Linked DNA regions of Homo sapiens: region 1 is linked to region 2. The links are contacts of gene promoters, found by promoter capture Hi-C in human tissues and cell types (Jung and others, 2019). All regions are on one chromosome and are shown on one strand. The core of a region is centred on a gene start or on the middle of the fragment in contact, and the rest is flanking DNA. Distances in the headings are between cores, read along the strand shown. Region 1 overlaps KMT2D (lysine methyltransferase 2D). Region 2 holds the start of WNT10B (Wnt family member 10B).

Region 1 (2,500 bases), core at 1-2,500, 70 kb before region 2:
TTGTCCTTTCCCTCCATCTGAGTTCATGCTTTGCCTCCCTCGGACTCCTGCAGCACTTCCCCTGCTCCTCCCCATTCCCTTGTTAGTGACCCTCCTCTTTTGGGGCAGGGCAGTGGCCTGGGGCTCTAGGCAGTTTGTCTGGGGTGGGACTTGGCATCCCTGCGCCCTGTGACTCTCTGCCCCTGCGCCCCAGGGAGCGCGGGGGCTTCTTTAGCCCGGAACCCGGTGAGCCCGACAGCCCCTGGACGGGCTCAGGTGGCACCACGCCCTCCACCCCCACAACCCCCACCACGGAGGGTGAGGGCGACGGACTCTCCTATAACCAGCGGAGTCTTCAGCGCTGGGAGAAGGATGAGGAGTTGGGCCAGCTGTCCACCATCTCACCTGTGCTCTATGCCAACATTAATTTTCCTAATCTCAAGCAAGACTACCCAGGTACCTGTGGGATGAGGGCAAGGGAGACAGCCTGGCAACATGGCAGGTGGAGGAGTCGCCTGCCAAGTCTTCTCTGACTCACTCTCTCTGCCCTCCAGACTGGTCAAGCCGTTGCAAACAAATCATGAAGCTCTGGAGAAAGGTTCCAGCAGCTGACAAAGCCCCCTACCTGGTGAGGCAGAAAGGAGCATGGATTAGCGTGGGAACTGAGAGGGAGGGAGGGATCTTTGGGTAATTTACCTCAGTTCTTTCCGCTCCCCACTCCTAAAGCAGCTGGGCCAGAAGGGATCTGCTTCTGGGTAGGGAGTGTGAAAACACTACAGTATGGGGGCGGGGCATGAGACCAAGCACTAGGCCCTAAGGCTGTGTCCCATATCCCTCAGCAAAAGGCCAAAGATAACCGGGCAGCTCACCGCATCAACAAGGTGCAGAAGGTGAGTGGGGCTGGGCTGGGGTGTAGCAGTCCTCTAGTGGGTGGCCTCTCTTGAGGGTGGAGGGCCATGGGGCCTGCCTGCAGCAGCCTGACTGCCCTATGCCTGGTCTCCCCCTGTAGCAGGCTGAGAGCCAGATCAACAAGCAGACCAAGGTGGGCGACATAGCCCGTAAGACTGACCGACCGGCCCTACATCTCCGCATTCCCCCGCAGCCAGGGGCACTGGGCAGCCCGCCCCCCGCTGCTGCCCCCACCATTTTCATTGGCAGCCCCACTACCCCCGCCGGCTTGTCTACCTCTGCGGACGGGTTCCTGAAGCCGCCGGCGGGCTCGGTGCCTGGCCCTGACTCGCCTGGTGAGCTCTTCCTCAAGCTCCCACCCCAGGTGCCCGCCCAAGTGCCTTCGCAGGACCCCTTTGGACTGGCCCCTGCCTATCCCCTGGAGCCCCGCTTCCCCACGGCACCGCCCACCTATCCCCCCTATCCTAGTCCTACGGGGGCCCCTGCGCAGCCCCCGATGCTGGGCGCCTCATCTCGTCCTGGGGCTGGCCAGCCAGGGGAATTCCACACTACCCCACCTGGCACCCCCAGACACCAGCCCTCCACACCTGACCCATTCCTCAAACCCCGCTGCCCCTCGCTGGATAACTTGGCTGTGCCTGAGAGCCCTGGGGTAGGGGGAGGCAAAGCTTCCGAGCCCCTGCTCTCGCCCCCACCTTTTGGGGAGTCCCGGAAGGCCCTAGAGGTGAAGAAGGAAGAGCTTGGGGCATCCTCTCCTAGCTATGGGCCCCCAAACCTGGGCTTTGTTGACTCACCCTCCTCAGGCACCCACCTGGGTGGCCTGGAGTTAAAGACACCTGATGTCTTCAAAGCCCCCCTGACCCCTCGGGCATCTCAGGTAGAGCCCCAGAGCCCGGGCTTGGGCCTAAGGCCCCAGGAGCCACCCCCTGCCCAGGCTTTGGCACCTTCTCCTCCAAGTCACCCAGACATCTTTCGCCCTGGCTCCTACACTGACCCATATGCTCAGCCCCCATTGACTCCTCGGCCCCAACCTCCGCCCCCTGAGAGCTGCTGTGCTCTGCCCCCTCGCTCACTGCCCTCCGACCCTTTCTCCCGAGTGCCTGCCAGTCCTCAGTCCCAGTCCAGCTCCCAGTCTCCACTGACACCCCGGCCTCTGTCTGCTGAAGCTTTTTGCCCATCACCCGTTACCCCTCGCTTCCAGTCCCCTGACCCTTATTCTCGCCCACCCTCACGCCCTCAGTCCCGTGACCCATTTGCCCCATTGCATAAGCCACCCCGACCCCAGCCCCCTGAAGTTGCCTTTAAGGCTGGGTCTCTAGCCCACACTTCGCTGGGGGCTGGGGGGTTCCCAGCAGCCCTGCCCGCGGGGCCAGCAGGTGAGCTCCATGCCAAGGTCCCAAGTGGGCAGCCCCCCAATTTTGTCCGGTCCCCTGGGACGGGTGCATTTGTGGGCACCCCCTCTCCCATGCGTTTCACTTTCCCTCAGGCAGTAGGGGAGCCTTCCCTAAAGCCCCCTGTCCCTCAGCCTGGTCTCCCGCCACCCCATGGGATCAACAGCCATTTTGGGCCCGGCCCCACCTTGGGCAAGCCTCAAAGCACAAACTACACAGTA
Region 2 (4,577 bases), core at 1,596-4,095:
CCCCCCTGGAATAGGGTTAGAGGTGAGATGTTAGAGGGGAGAGGGGCTTTGCCTTGACTTTGGGATCTGGGGAGGAAGCAGGGCTCCAGGGTTTAGAGTTTGTGGGCAGAGGAGCCTACCCTCCTTTGAAGCACCCGCAGGCAGCACTGCCCCCTTGGGCTGGGAAGGCACAGCCCATCCATTAGGCCTGAGTACAGAAGGGGGCAAAATTCTGTCTAAGGTAATCCCATGGATTTGTTGGAGTGGACTGCTGAAAGTGGGGCCTTCCTGAGAGTCCAGTATGCAGTCGGCCCGCAGACCCTTTGGTGCCTCCAGGTGGTGGCCTACGGTGCTGCAGCAGAAGGCGCATTAAGCGGAGGGTGGGCAGCGCAGCTGAGCTCACCGCCACGGGCGCATCCATCCCTCCTGGGCCTATAATTTGGGTTCCCCGGGTCTGGCCTCCCCTATCAGCGGCTCAGCAACAGATGAGTCACCCGGGACCCCGGGCCAAGGCAAACATGGGGGGAGGAGGAGGAGGAGGCTTCTGAGGCTTTAGCCACCGCCTCAGTTGCTCGACATCCCCCAATCTCCAGGGGCCCCCACTCTTTTCTTTGACCCCCGCCCTCCAGGGCCCCAGTGTTCTTCCCACATTGCTCTCGTTACACCCTCCATCCCTAGGATGGGAAGGGCAGCCCTCCACTCTTCTCATTGAGGGGAAGGGGAACCAGCTTGCTCCTAGTCCCTCCCTGCAGTGATGAAAGCCCCCCACTTTCCCCCTCCTGTCATTGGCCCTGACCCACGTCAAGGTCTCTCTGGTTCCCGTCCCTCCCCTTTCTTGGAGCTGGCCGCGTGCTTGGGGTATTAGGCAATGGGTGTGCACCCACAGCCCTCTCCAGGCCCCGCCTGTCCCACCGCCCTCTAGCCGCCTGCGGGTCAGTGCTCAGGCCAGCCGGTCGGGCTGAGGGCACTGCGGGCCAGCTCAGGCCACCCAGTCTGCCGGCCTGTGGCCTCTTGTCCCAGAGTTGGGCTTCAGTAGAGAGAAGGAGCAGGACTCTGGGTCCTTGGATTTGGAACAGTCCTGCTTGGGGAGACCTAGGGTCACCAGGAAGTTGAAACCTATTGTAGTAGTTCTGCCCCTCGCCCCTTCTTGGCACCTGGCTGTATGCTGGAGCCTGACAAGGGTAGAATCAGAAGGCAAAAAATAATCCCAAACCTAAGGGGGACCCAGAGACACATGGAGAAATACAAATGTCCATGAGGTCCCCATGGAGAAGAGAGGCTTAGGCAACCTCATTCCCCTCTTCCAAGGACCTGGCAGGAATCCCAGGGTGACTGCAAGAAAAAGGATAAGGACACTGGTGGGGATCATGAATCCAGGTGTAAGGATGAAAACTATGAGATGGGGCTTGCAGATTCTGGTGACCTCCAAAACCACACATGGTTTGGCTCTTGTCCTCTAAATGGGAAGGAGGGTCAGGAACTCTAGTGCTCCCACTTCCCCATCCCAGAGGTAGGGAATCAGAGAAAAGCAGTCTGGTCCAGGCTGTCCAGTGTCAGGGACCATGGCACTTTCACCTCCCCAGACTGCTCACAGCCTGGCACGTAAAGGTGATCTGTAAATATCCCAACAGATGTAAGTTTGCTCGATCTCCTGTCTCAGACTGCTGTGCCCGCTATCCAACAGTGACCCCTGCAGCACGGGCAGGACCTCCAGCAGCACAGACTGGAGGCTGGCTGCCCAGCAGAGCTGCAACGCCACCACCAAGGAAGAGGTGACTGTGGTTGTGGGTATCATCCCTGTTCCTCTGCTTGCTTGGGGGCAGTCTGAGTCAATGTGCCTGGGGCGCGTGGGGCCAGCCGTGCCTTGGGCTGCGGTCTGGCAGGGGCGGGGGGCGGCTGGAAAGCCTGGGGCCCCTCTCTGGCAAAAATAGCCCACAGTGGTTAGAGCTTCGAGGGTGAGTCAGGCGGGAGCACGGTGGCGCCTAACCCGTTCGCTGCCACTGGGTCTCCCTAAGGCGGTTTGCCTTTGCCTGTGCACCCCAAGACCAGGCTCTTTCCCGGCTGCCCTTGGGCTTGGCTCAATTTTGGATCCCAAGGCCCTCCTCATCCCATAAGAAGCAAGTCTACAGCTTGGAGCAGGAATCCAGGCCACCCAAAGTGCAGACCGGGGGAATCCCGAGAAGGGTAGGATACCTCTGTTGGCAAGCATCCCTGCCAGGCAAGGAAGCATCGGGGCAGGCTGACAATCTTTGGTGCTACTTGAACCTCTGCTAGGGCCAAACTCTGAGGCCAAAGCTGTCCCCTCCAAAGGGGCAGGCGCAGGGCTTGGAGGAGGGTGGGAACCAAGCTGCCCAGACGTGTGCTTCTCCTGCCCGCTCTGAGTACCCCGGGTGCGCTCAGGCTGTGGGTGCCACATGTGACTGTCCCACACCGAGAAGCCCAAAGACTGTCTGGCTCCATCCTCATCTTGTCAAAGGCACCTTCCAGCCACCCTGATCTTGGTGGAGAAACTGACGCAAAGAGGAGTGATGAAAGATGTGGCCATCTGGGCCCCATTCTGGCTCCCTAGGAAGGTTACTACACCCTCCCTGCAGCCTTGGCGACCCCAGATCAGGTGAGAGGAACTCTGGCCACCTCCTTCTTCAGTGGGGCCAAGCCTGAACCCAGGCGTCGGGGGAGAGGGTGTGTGAGAGAGAGAGAGTGTGTGTGTGTGTGTGTGTGTGTGTGTGTGTGTGTGCGCGCGCGCGCGCGCGCGCGCGCGCTGGGAGGAGGGGGAGGCTGCATTCGCCTGGTCAAGGCTGGGAGTGGAGGGTAGGGTGGGGAAGCCCCAGGCTCGGGGAGGGGCTGCAGCTCCGTCAGCCCGGCAGAGCCACCCTGAGCTCGGTGAGAGCAAAGCCAGAGCCCCCAGTCCTTTGCTCGCCGGCTTGCTAGCTCTCTCGATCACTCCCTCCCTTCCTCCCTCCCTTCCTCCCGGCGGCCGCGGCGGCGCTGGGGAAGCGGTGAAGAGGAGTGGCCCGGCCCTGGAAGAATGCGGCTCTGACAAGGGGACAGAACCCAGCGCAGTCTCCCCACGGTTTAAGCAGCACTAGTGAAGCCCAGGCAACCCAACCGTGCCTGTCTCGGACCCCGCACCCAAACCACTGGAGGTAATTAGACCTGGGAAAGCAGGGAGGGCAGGGACGTGCACACGAGGAAGAGACAGGCACGTGTGTAGTCAGACAGACAGACAGACACGCATCCACCCACAGAAGCACAGAGACGCATAGAGAGCCAGAGATATTGCTAGAGATAAAGACACAGAGAATAAAGGAGTGCCCCCAGATTTAGAATGCAATGAATGTGAGAGCCAAGGGGTGAGGACCAGACGGGCGACTATGGAGGAGGGGAGCTTGTAGTTAGGCAAGGTGGGGGATAGGGAAGAGGACTCAGTCTGTGCCACGGTCCCTTTTAGGAGGGAGCCAGGCTCTCCTCCCCATCTTTCCTGCACCTGGAGCCTCTCCTCTTTCCTTGCTGCTCAGGGAGGGGGCAGTGTGAGTGGGGAACTCATTCTTAGACCTTTCTCATGGAGCCTACTTGCCCTTGATGACACCTGGAGGTGACACCCCCTTAGGTGGTGGGGAACCTCCTCCCTATCCCTCTCCCTAGCCCTGTGAGGGCGGGGAAGCTAGTCGTGGGGCCCTGGAAAAGGGAGCAGTAGGCGAGGTTGTGGAGCAAGTGTTTGTGAGTCTGTGTGTCTGAGTTTGCAAGTGAGTGTGTGTCTGTGTGCCGGGCGTTGTGTCTGATTGGGCAAGGTTCCAGGGGTGCTCGCTTGAGTCCTGAGCTGGGACAACGCCTTGACTCTTCTTCTTTAAGACCTCCAAGCCTCAGGGACTCTGGGAATCAAGGGGTGTTTCTTCTTGTTTTGTTTGAGGAGGAATGAGAAGGGTCAGTAGGGTGGCACCGGTGGGTTAGGAGCCCGAAGAAGGGCGTCACTTGGTTCCCCAAGCGAGCCGCCCTATTCCTGAACCCGCATCAAGTCTCCCGTCCCGCAGGTCCTGATCGATCTGCCCACCGGAGCCTCCGGGCTTCGACATGCTGGAGGAGCCCCGGCCGCGGCCTCCGCCCTCGGGCCTCGCGGGTCTCCTGTTCCTGGCGTTGTGCAGTCGGTGAGCAGTTCCCCTTGTCTCCCAGGCCATAGAAACACCGACCCGGGGTGGGGAGAGTTGGAGGGGTCTGGACCGCAGACCCCAGACGCCTTCTTGGTTCCCAGGGCTCTAAGCAATGAGATTCTGGGCCTGAAGTTGCCTGGCGAGCCGCCGCTGACGGCCAACACCGTGTGCTTGACGCTGTCCGGCCTGAGCAAGCGGCAGCTAGGCCTGTGCCTGCGCAACCCCGACGTGACGGCGTCCGCGCTTCAGGGTCTGCACATCGCGGTCCACGAGTGTCAGCACCAGCTGCGCGACCAGCGCTGGAACTGCTCCGCGCTTGAGGGCGGCGGCCGCCTGCCGCACCACAGCGCCATCCTCAAGCGCGGTGAGCCTGGCTGGGCGGGTCGGCGCTGCCGCGGAGGCTAGGGGGTGGGCGGCAGGGCGAGGCGCGCGGAGGCGGGAAGGGATGGT

Evidence for each region. The method cuts DNA at HindIII sites, captures the fragments that hold promoters and counts their contacts. A contact is called where the count stands out against the background at its distance.
Region 1: a fragment that was not itself captured here is called in contact with the fragment with the promoter of WNT10B in region 2 in 4 of the 25 tissues and cell types used here (H1 embryonic stem cells, bladder, lymphoblastoid cells and 1 more).

Annotation. Positions count from the first base shown.
Region 1 is chr12:49,040,024-49,042,523 of GRCh38, reverse strand. It overlaps KMT2D (lysine methyltransferase 2D), which reads left to right. Exons shown (of 55, transcript NM_003482.4): 29 at 194-435; 30 at 534-607; 31 at 819-869; 32 at 989-2,500. Among named protein-coding and RNA genes, the nearest start is that of KMT2D, 20 kb to the left of the region's middle. The HindIII fragment of the contact is 6,740 bases long and covers 1-2,500 here.
Region 2 is chr12:48,970,003-48,974,579 of GRCh38, reverse strand. WNT10B (Wnt family member 10B) reads left to right here and starts at 2,845. Exons shown (of 5, transcript NM_003394.4): 1 at 2,845-3,125; 2 at 4,011-4,124; 3 at 4,229-4,491. The coding sequence starts at 4,051. RefSeq lists silencers at 2,780-3,074, 4,542-4,577. The HindIII fragment of the contact is 13,431 bases long and covers 1-4,577 here.